Linked DNA regions of Homo sapiens: all the other regions are linked to region 1. The links are contacts of gene promoters, found by promoter capture Hi-C in blood cells and fetal thymus (Javierre and others, 2016). All regions are on one chromosome and are shown on one strand. The core of a region is centred on a gene start or on the middle of the fragment in contact, and the rest is flanking DNA. Distances in the headings are between cores, read along the strand shown.

The links. Contacts are between HindIII fragments. The CHiCAGO score rates a contact against its expected background, and 5 or more counts as called.
Region 2: a contact is called between a fragment that was not itself captured here and the fragment with the promoter of MYOM3 in region 1, in 1 of 17 cell types (M0 macrophages). The highest score is 5.6, in M0 macrophages.
Region 3: a fragment that was not itself captured here is called in contact with the fragment with the promoter of MYOM3 in region 1 in 1 of 17 cell types (M0 macrophages); the score reaches 6.0 in M0 macrophages.

The regions. Positions count from the first base shown.
Region 1 is chr1:24,110,640-24,113,907 of GRCh38, forward strand. It overlaps MYOM3 (myomesin 3), which reads right to left and starts at 1,496. Exons shown (of 37, transcript NM_152372.4): 1 at 1,392-1,496. RefSeq lists an enhancer at 1,698-2,206. The HindIII fragment of the contact is 9,473 bases long and covers 1-3,268 here.
Region 2 is chr1:24,377,748-24,380,612 of GRCh38, forward strand. It overlaps STPG1 (sperm tail PG-rich repeat containing 1), which reads right to left. Exons shown (of 9, transcript NM_001199013.2): 5 at 1,906-2,076. Among named protein-coding and RNA genes, the nearest start is that of STPG1, 35 kb to the right of the region's middle. The HindIII fragment of the contact is 1,067 bases long and covers 886-1,952 here.
Region 3 is chr1:24,396,704-24,399,726 of GRCh38, forward strand. The region is part of intron 2 of STPG1 (sperm tail PG-rich repeat containing 1); the gene reads right to left. Among named protein-coding and RNA genes, the nearest start is that of STPG1, 16 kb to the right of the region's middle. The HindIII fragment of the contact is 329 bases long and covers 1,231-1,559 here.

The sequences.
Region 1 (3,268 bases), core at 246-2,745:
CTGCAGGGTTAGCTGGGACCAAGGGCTGCCCCCTAAAGCTCCCTGGGCTCCTGCTAATCATCTCAAATGACATAATGGGACAGTCACCCTCTTTGGCTTCGTATCACTCCCTCCCGATGGAAGAAGTTCTCTTTGCACCCAAAGAAGTGGCTAGCCCTGCTCATTCTGCTCTTTCTTCCTCATGGCCCAGGAGGAGAGCTGCTGGGTACCACCCTAGGTGGAGCAAGGACCCCCCACTCTGCCCCAGCTTTCCTGGGACACGATGGCCCTGGCTCCAGTGGCTGAGAGTTAACATTCCCTGGCACCAGCCACTGGCTCCCTTCCCCTGGATGCTCTGTTCCCGATTAGCACAGCAGGCAGGGGCCTGGCGCTCGTCCCTGACCTCGGGGCCTCCAGCAACCAGACCCCTGGCTTTAGCGGATGAGCTACCAATTCTTTTTAAAGCACTGACTGATGCGTGGTATTAAGCAGGGACAAGTTTGCGGCCTCACTGCCCTTTCCCAAAGGACCAGGGTGCCTCTTCCCGGAACACTGTGTGTGCCTGCGTGGAGGGGAAACTGCCCCCGCTTCCCTCTCTTGGGGTGCAAAAATCTGGGCCAGAGGTCCCACTGCGTGGCCTTCCCTATTCCCCTCTGCTTTCCTCCCAAGCCTCCATCTGCCGAGGAGGCCTCTCCCCTTCTTCAGGAGGGAAAGAGGAATGCACAGCAGTTGAGCCAAGACCCCTCCAGGAGCTGCGATGGGGGCGGATGGTGGCTGGGAGCAGAGACACATCCTGCGGGCGGCGGGTGGCACAGGCTGGGACGTGTTCTTAGCCAGTGGCTCCACCAGCTTCCGCGAGGCCGAATCCTGCCCTTGCCAGTCATGAGCTGAGGCAACTCCTTTCCCGTCTGGGCCTCGGTTTCCTGTCAGGCACTGGATGAAATCCCTTCCAGCTCTAAGATTTGGGATCCGAGGGCTCGCTCTCTTTCCCTGCCTGTGGGGTTGGCCAAGCCGGGCTCAGCCAGCTCCGCTCTAAGTTCGTGGAACTTGCCAGCTTAGCCTGGCTCCCGCTTATCGCTGCTCCATCACAGGAAAGACTCCAGTTCCCAGGGCAGCCCCCACTCTTTTTTTTTTTTTTGCAACTTTCACATCACAGACAGCTCAGCTCTCAGAAGACCCAGGGCCACACAGAACAGTGGGATGGGGCAGGGGTTTCTGGAATCCCCTCCCATTTTCACTTGGGTGCTGCCTCAGCACAAATTTCCCAGGCTCCTTTCACAACACACAACACACATACACACAAACACACACACGTGCACACACACACACACATGCACCCACAGATATCACTCCCCAGTGGCTGACTCTTAGGAGGCATCCCTCCCCCACCCTGATTTCTGGGGGTGACTCACAGAAGCAGTGTGCCCACTTAGGAGTCTCTGGGGAGAAGATTCCTGAGGCCGAGAGGGTCCTTGTTCTCTTCTTGCCCTCGGCTCAGCGGGCACCGGGAGAAGAATGCGATCCCGGAGACTGCACCGTCTTAAATATAGCAGCACTGAGACAGTACAATGACAATGGATGAGAACTATGGCATCGGGGACAGGGGGCCAAGGGGAGGGGCCATTCCGTGTCTCCAGCCTGCTGGGCAGCAGCGACAGGTGGAGCTGTCCGCCGCGTCCCCCCACACTGCTCCTCCTCTCAGCTGGGTCCTTTCTGCCCAACCCAAGCCCCTGTTAAAATGGAAAGGAGGGAACGGCTCAGGCATGGTCGTATGGAGGGCAGATCCCGTGCGGCGTTCTCAGCTGTCGGGAGTTCTGATCTGAATTCTGCCCCGGCTGACTGGGTGCCCTGGGGAAGGCGCTCAGCTTCCCTGAACTGACTGCCTTCTGAAAAACGGAGACAGTGAGACTGGGCACCTGGACTTCATGAAGACGGTGGAAGGAATATGACCTAAAAGTGAGTGTTTCGTGCTCAGAAGTTGTCACTGGCTAAAACAGCAATGTGTGGCTCCTGGTCCCTCCACCACTCCGGTAGTTACTACACGGCCCCCGCCCTGACCACAGTCATGTGTGTGTGGTGTGGTGCAGGCAGGAGGAGCTGGGGAGCCACCTACTGCTTCACTGTGCAAACTGCTCAGGCTGCCAGAGTGTCCCCTGAAGGGCCTTCTTATAGGGTAAACGCACCTGACAGGGATAACTGAAGCACGCTCCAAGAATGACCCTGTGTGGAAGACCTGAATATGTGTTCCGAGCTAAGGAATCTGGGGAGTAGCCAACCCGTTTCTTACCTACGATGAATATCTGAGCCCCCGTCCCGTCCCTTCTGGTGGAACGCTGGCCATACAGGGGATTGAGGCCCTGAGTTTTGGGTTAAATGAAGATTGCCAGGTGGAGGTCATTAGGGGATGGTGTAAAGTGAAAATGCTCTATAAACTGCATGCTGTTTGCAAGGGGCTGAGGTTTTCCTGCCCAGTCGGCCGCCACTGGTATGTTGTCCAGCCCGCCGCCCCTGGACCATTTCTGTATGTAAGGCGGTTCTCCTGTCCAGTTCATCACCAGTGGACTCTCTCTCCTGTAGGCAAGCCCCTAACAAACCCCCACGTTCCTTCCTTTCCTTCCTTCCCTTCCTTCTCTCCCTTTCTTTTTCTTTCTTTCTTTCTTTCTTTCTTTCTTTCTTTCTTTCTTTCTTTCTTTCTTTCTTTCTTTCTTTCTTTCTTTCTTCTTTCTCTTTCCTTCCTTCCTTCCTTCTTTCCTTCTTTCCCTCCCCCCCTCCTTCCTTCCTTCCTTCCTTCTCTCTCTCTTTCTTTCTTTCTTTCTTTCCTTCTTTCCTTCTTTCTTTCCTTCTTGAGTCAGAGTCTCACTTTGTTGTCCAGGCTGGAGTGCAGTGGCATGATCTCAGCTCACTGCAACCTCCGCCTCCTGAAACCCCCATGTTCCGTTTGCTGGCTATGGATCTTTTCTTTGGCCTCTCAAACCTGGTGCCTTCCCTACTGAGGTTAATAGGTGTTCGGCACCACACCTCTTCCCACCCTTTGCCCTCTCCTGCCATTCCCTCAGTCTCAATTCTTTCCCCCTCACATTCATTGGCACCTACCCTATGCCAGACCCTAACCTACAGGGGAAGTCAGGCACTTACGACAGGAGGTGATCAGGAAGGTGCACCTGGGTCGAGTCTCAGAGGATGAGCCGGTGAGGGGAAGGCTGTACCGGCCCCTAGCCAGAGAGCACAGCTTCCCTCCCTCACCCCTTCCTGCGACCTCAGGTGGCCACCCACACTACACCTGTCACTC
Region 2 (2,865 bases), core at 169-2,668, 270 kb after region 1:
AGAGGGAAGCCTGTCAGGGCTGGAATGAGGTGACTTTGATCATTCCCCAGCTTTCCACCCCAGCCATCCACTGGTGCCCACTGAAGTGCAAATGATGCCTTCAAGCTGGGTAACTGTGCAAGTCCCTTCACCTCTCTGAGCCTTAGCTTTCTCTTCTTTATACTGGGAACAAGATAATCCACTTTATGGATTCACTTGTGAGTATTAAATATGATTAATACATAACTCTTAGACCAGCACTTAGTACATGAGAAGTGCTTCATCCTCCTCCTCCTCCTCCTCATCATTTTCAGGCTCTGATTATGCCGAGGGAAGACTGCCTGGAGTTGGACTGCCCAGTATAGTAGCCACAGGTTGCATGTGGCTATTGGCCCTGGAAACGTGGCTGGCCCAAATTAAAATGTGCTGGAAGAATAAAACACATACTGGATTTTAAAGACTCACTACAAGGAAAATAGTCTTCCTCAAATATAAAATTCATAACTTTTATATTGATTAGTGTTGAAATGATAATATTTTGGATCTGTTGGGTAAACTATATTACTCAAATTAACTTCATCTGTCCCTTTTTCTTTTTAGATGTGGCTACTAGAAAATCTTAAATGAGGCCGGGCACGGTGGCTCCCGCCTGTAATCCCAGCACTTTGGGAGGCCGAGGCAGGTGGATCACGAGATCAGGAGATTGAGACCATCCTGGCTAACCCAGTGAAACCCCATCTCTACTAAAAATACAAAAAATTAGCCGGGTGTGGTGGCGGGTGCCTGTAGTCCCAGCAACTTGGGAGGCTGAGGCAGGAGAATGGTGTGAACCCAGGAGGTGGAGCCTGCAGATTGCACCACTGCTCTCCAGCCTGGGCAACAGAGCAAGACTCCGTCTCAAAAAAAAGCTTGAATCCATCATAGAAGGTGGGCAGGATTTTTGTAGTCAGAAAAATAATTATTAATTATCAATATTATGAAGGAAAAAAGGAAATGGTATAATAAATGTATAAAACCAAAATAGTTTGGAAAATGGCATAACATTAATGTCTTAAGTACAATTCATATCTTGCGCACTTCAGAGTGCTTTCACGTTCGTTGCCTTATGGTAACCCTGTAGGGCAAGTAGAATTGATTCCATTGTACAGTGGGGGCTGTGACTTACTTACTTGCTTGTATTTAAGGGTAAGTAAATACCCTTCATGTACTAACAAAGACAGCCCTACCAATCTCCATGTATTGTGTGGTCCTTGTGTGACTGGTGCTGTCCTGGGCATGAAGCATACATTATCTCATTTAATATTTGCATTAACACGATGAGGTGAACATACATCACCATTTTACAGATCAGTAAACTAAGCCCTGGAAAGGTTAAGGGACTTGCCGAAGGCCGCACAGTTAGAAAGTGGCAACAGATGAGAGCTAAACCAAACCTTCCTGAGTCCATCTCTTAACCATCCATGCCATTCTGCGTCAGTGAATACAAAGCGATCATAATTGGCACAGCAGGGCACGACTGTTAAAACACCTATTTTCTGATATGAAAGTTTATTTTCCCTAGAAGAACCTAAAAAGTAAATCATTAGTGGCTGCAGACAAAGTGGTAAATAATACACCCATTGTTACAGATGAGAAAACTACGTCCCAGAAAGGTTACAGGACAAGAGTAATTAGAATATGTGTTTCTCAGGGCAGTGGCCTCCCCACAGCTTGATACTGGCCTCCATGTTGCCCATCCTGATCTCTGGGGTCTGCAAATTCCCTGTAAGAGTCTTGTACAGCCTTAGGCACCCATTGGGTAGTCAACAAATGCTAACTGGCTTGACAACTGCATTAAAATACGATGTCCCCAAGATCCCCTCTTCCTTTTATTTTAGTAAACCATTAATTCGATCTGTATTTAGCAAGCATAGGCAGAGTTCTTACATTGTAATAGTTTGGTGCAGGAGTTTCAAACTTGAGAGCTTTCATAAAGCTTGGCAACTGGAACATGCTGGAACACGAATTACTAAAGTCTCTCTTGGAAATAAAATCCGATGGGATAGTGTATGCATTCGCTGCAGGGTATTTAGAAATGATGGTGTCCAATCGGGCGCACTGTAAGGAGACAACCAAAGGAATCAGCATTGTCACATAATATTGTGGATCTGAAGGACAGATGTCAAAAAGATGGTGACCAGCACAAGGTCTAAATGCATTTTATAAAAGGCGAAACTCTGGCAGTAACAATGATAAACTGACCTCAGGCTTTGAGGATCTTCCCTTGGAAAACGCAAGTTCAGACCTGTACTCGCTTCTGTAAACTAACTCAAATTATTCATCTTCTGTTTGGGACTTGGCAAAAATGATTTTGCCATAAATGCATTTCCACCCAATCCTGTTCCAGGCCACTTACCCTTGACTCATCAGCTGTTGGGTAATTTATGTGATAGGAAGCTTTAGATGCTCTTCTCAGCCTAGGCTTTTCTTCTGAGTAAAATCTCACATCTTGTTTCTAAGGTTAAATGATCTGAACTGCCTAAGCAACGAGTTTGCTTCAAACAAAGCTCCAGGGGGCTTGTTGTCCATCTGTGCCTCCTACCCTCCACCAAATTACTGTTTTCATCAAATCCTACAGTATTTTCACGGTTTAACAGAACCAATCCCACCCTTTCAGGAAGCCACGATAAATTATCTTCAGTTAAAAAACAAACAGAATCAATGTTTGTCAAAAGAACAGGGACAAAAGTCACAGAAACTCAGTGATAACATCACTTTCCCCTAAGATAGCATGGCAAGTATTGGAGTCTGATAAAACAAAAAATTTCCCACTATTTAATGGTCAAAAGCTTGAGAACATTGCCCTGGATTTTCTCACTTGATAGGAATCAATAACTACACAAACAC
Region 3 (3,023 bases), core at 145-2,644, 290 kb after region 1:
ATTCCTAATAGGCTAACAAAGGAGATAAAATTGAAGCATTAAAAATAATACAAGAGACAGAGAAAAGGTAAATAAAGAACAGATGGGACGAATAGAAAGCAAGTCACAAGATGATAGACTTAAACTTATACACCAATAATCACATTAAATGTAAATAATCTAAATATCCCAATTAAAAAACAGAGATTCTCAGATTGGATAAGAAAGAAAGACCCAACTATATGTTACCTTGGAGAAACATACTTGAAATATAAACTCAGAAATAAGTTAAAAGTAAAATAATGGAAAAAGATTTACTATGCTAACACTAATCAAAAGATAGTTAGATATTATCAGATAAAGTAGATTTCAGAGCAAAAAATATTACCTGCAATAAAGAGGGTCATTTCATAATGGGGTCATTATGAGCAGTCAGCTCCTCAAGAGAACATAACAGTCCTAAATGCTGATGTACCCAATAAAAAGAGATTGAAAATATAAGAAGCAGAAACTGATAAAACTGCGAGAAAAAATAGAAAATTTCACAATTATAGTCAGAGATCTCAAAACATCTCCCTCGATAATTTAAACAAGTAGATAGATCAGTAAAGATATATGAAACCTGAACAAAACTATTACCTAACCTGACCTAATTGGCATTTATAGAACACTCCACCTATCAATTCCATACAAGCTGTCCCAGAAAACTGAAGAGGAAAAGACATTTCCAAACTCATTCAATGAGGCAACCACTACCTGATACCAAAACTATATGGCATCATTACAAGAGGGAAAAAGATCACTAGAGGTCAGCAGCCCTCATAAACATAAATACATAAATCCTTAGAAAAATTTTAGCGAATCAAACCAGACAATATATAAAAAGATAATACATCGTGACCAACCCCAGTAATGCAAAAATAGTTTAATATTTAAAAATCAATATAATTCATCATATTAACGGACTAAAAAAGAAAAACCATACGAGTATCTCAACAGATTAAAAAAATCATATACCTGTAACATGTACTCTTTTTGTCTGGCTTCTTTCACTCAGCATAATTACTATGAGATTCATCTCTGTTGCTGATATATCAATACTCCATTGCTTTTTATTGTTGAGTAATATTCCATTGTATAAAAACATGATGTTTATTCACTGGTGATGTAAATTTGAGTTGTCGCCAGTTTGGGGGCATTACAAATAAAACTGCTATGAGCATTTTATCTACAAGTCTTTAAATGGACATAAGCTTTCATTTTGCGGGGTAAATGCCTAGGAGTGGAATGACTAGATCATATGTTTAACTTTTTAAAAAACTGTCAAACTATTTTTCATAGTCGTTGTACTTTTGCACATCCCCACTATTAGCGTATGAAAATTTCTATGACTTCACATTCTTATCAGCAATGGGAAGTCTTTTTAATCTCAGGCATCCCATTAGGTATGTAATGGTATCTCATTATGGTTTTAATTTGCATTTCCCTAATGACTAATGATGCTAAGCAGTCCTTCATATGCTATTTTCCCTCTGTATATCTTTTTTTTGGTGAAGTAACTGTTTAGTAGATACAGAAAAAGCTTTTCATAAGATCTAATATCCTTTGATGATTAAAAGAAAAACTCTAGCAAACTAGGAATAGGAGCAAACTTTGTTAATCTGATAAAAGGTGTCTATAACAAAAGCCTATAGCAAACAGGATACCAAATTGTGAAATATTAAAGGCTTTCCCTTGAGACAGGGAGTGAAACTAGTACAACTGCTATTATCCTTCTATTCAACGTTGTACTGAAGGTCTCTAGCCAATACAAACGCCTACATAAAATATATTAAAAATACATAAAATATATGGATGAGAAAGGAAGAAATAAAGTTGTCATTTTCACAGATTACAAGATTGTGTATGGGGAAATTGCAAAATAATCTGTGGACACCCTATAAGAGGTAATAGTTGGATTTAGTGAGGTCACCAGAATCAAGGTCAATATACAAAAATCAATTAATTTTTTTGTACAGCAGCAACAAACAATTTAAAATAAAATTTAAAATTACCATTTATAACAGCATAAAAATCAAATGCCTACAATAGATATAATGAAGATATGCAAGACTTCTACATAGAAAACTCCAAAACATTGAGAACAATTTAAGGTAACTTAAATAAAAGGATCTATACATGGATTAGAGAAGTTAATATTTATTGTAAAGATGTAAATTATCCTTAAATTGATTTCTAGAATCAATGCAATCCAAATTAAAATGAGAGTAGAGTTTTTTTAAGACATTAATAAGCTGATTGTAAAATTTGTATAGCTACCCAGATTTGATCATCGCACATTATATTCTTGTATCAAAATATCATGTGTGCACCATAAATATGTACAACTATTATGTATCCATAAAAATTAAAAATAAAAAAGTAAAATAAATTTATATGGAAATGCACTGGGGTCAAGAATAGCCAGCATAAACAAAGAAGTACAAAGTTGAAGGGCTTATGCTACTAAAGAGTTATTATAAAGTTACAGTAATTAGGACAGTATGATATTTGAACAGAATAAATAATCAAGAAGCAGAGCTGCATATGCCTGGACACTTGATTTATGACAAAGGTAGCAACAGCAATACAGAGTAGTAGAGAATGAGCAGCCTTTCAATAAATGGTGCTGGGTCAACATGGAAAACAACAGACTCGGGCATCTTCCTCAATCAAAAACAATTTCAAGTGAATTGTAGATCTAGATGTAAAAGGTAAAATAATAGAGTTTCTAGAAGAAACTATCTTGGGATGGGCAAAGATTTCTTAAGTATTAATAAAATAGACATGTACACTAAACATAAAGAGACTGATAAATTGGGCTATATTAAAATCAAGAGTTTCTGTGTCTTAGCACATTGTTAAGAGAGTGAAAAGGAAAGTCCCAGGATAAGGGATGACATTTACCTACAGCTAACAAATGACTTGTTTCTAGAATAAAGAATCCCTATAAATAAGAAAAGGACAGAATGGTTTAAAGAACTCCTATAAATAAAAAAAAGAAA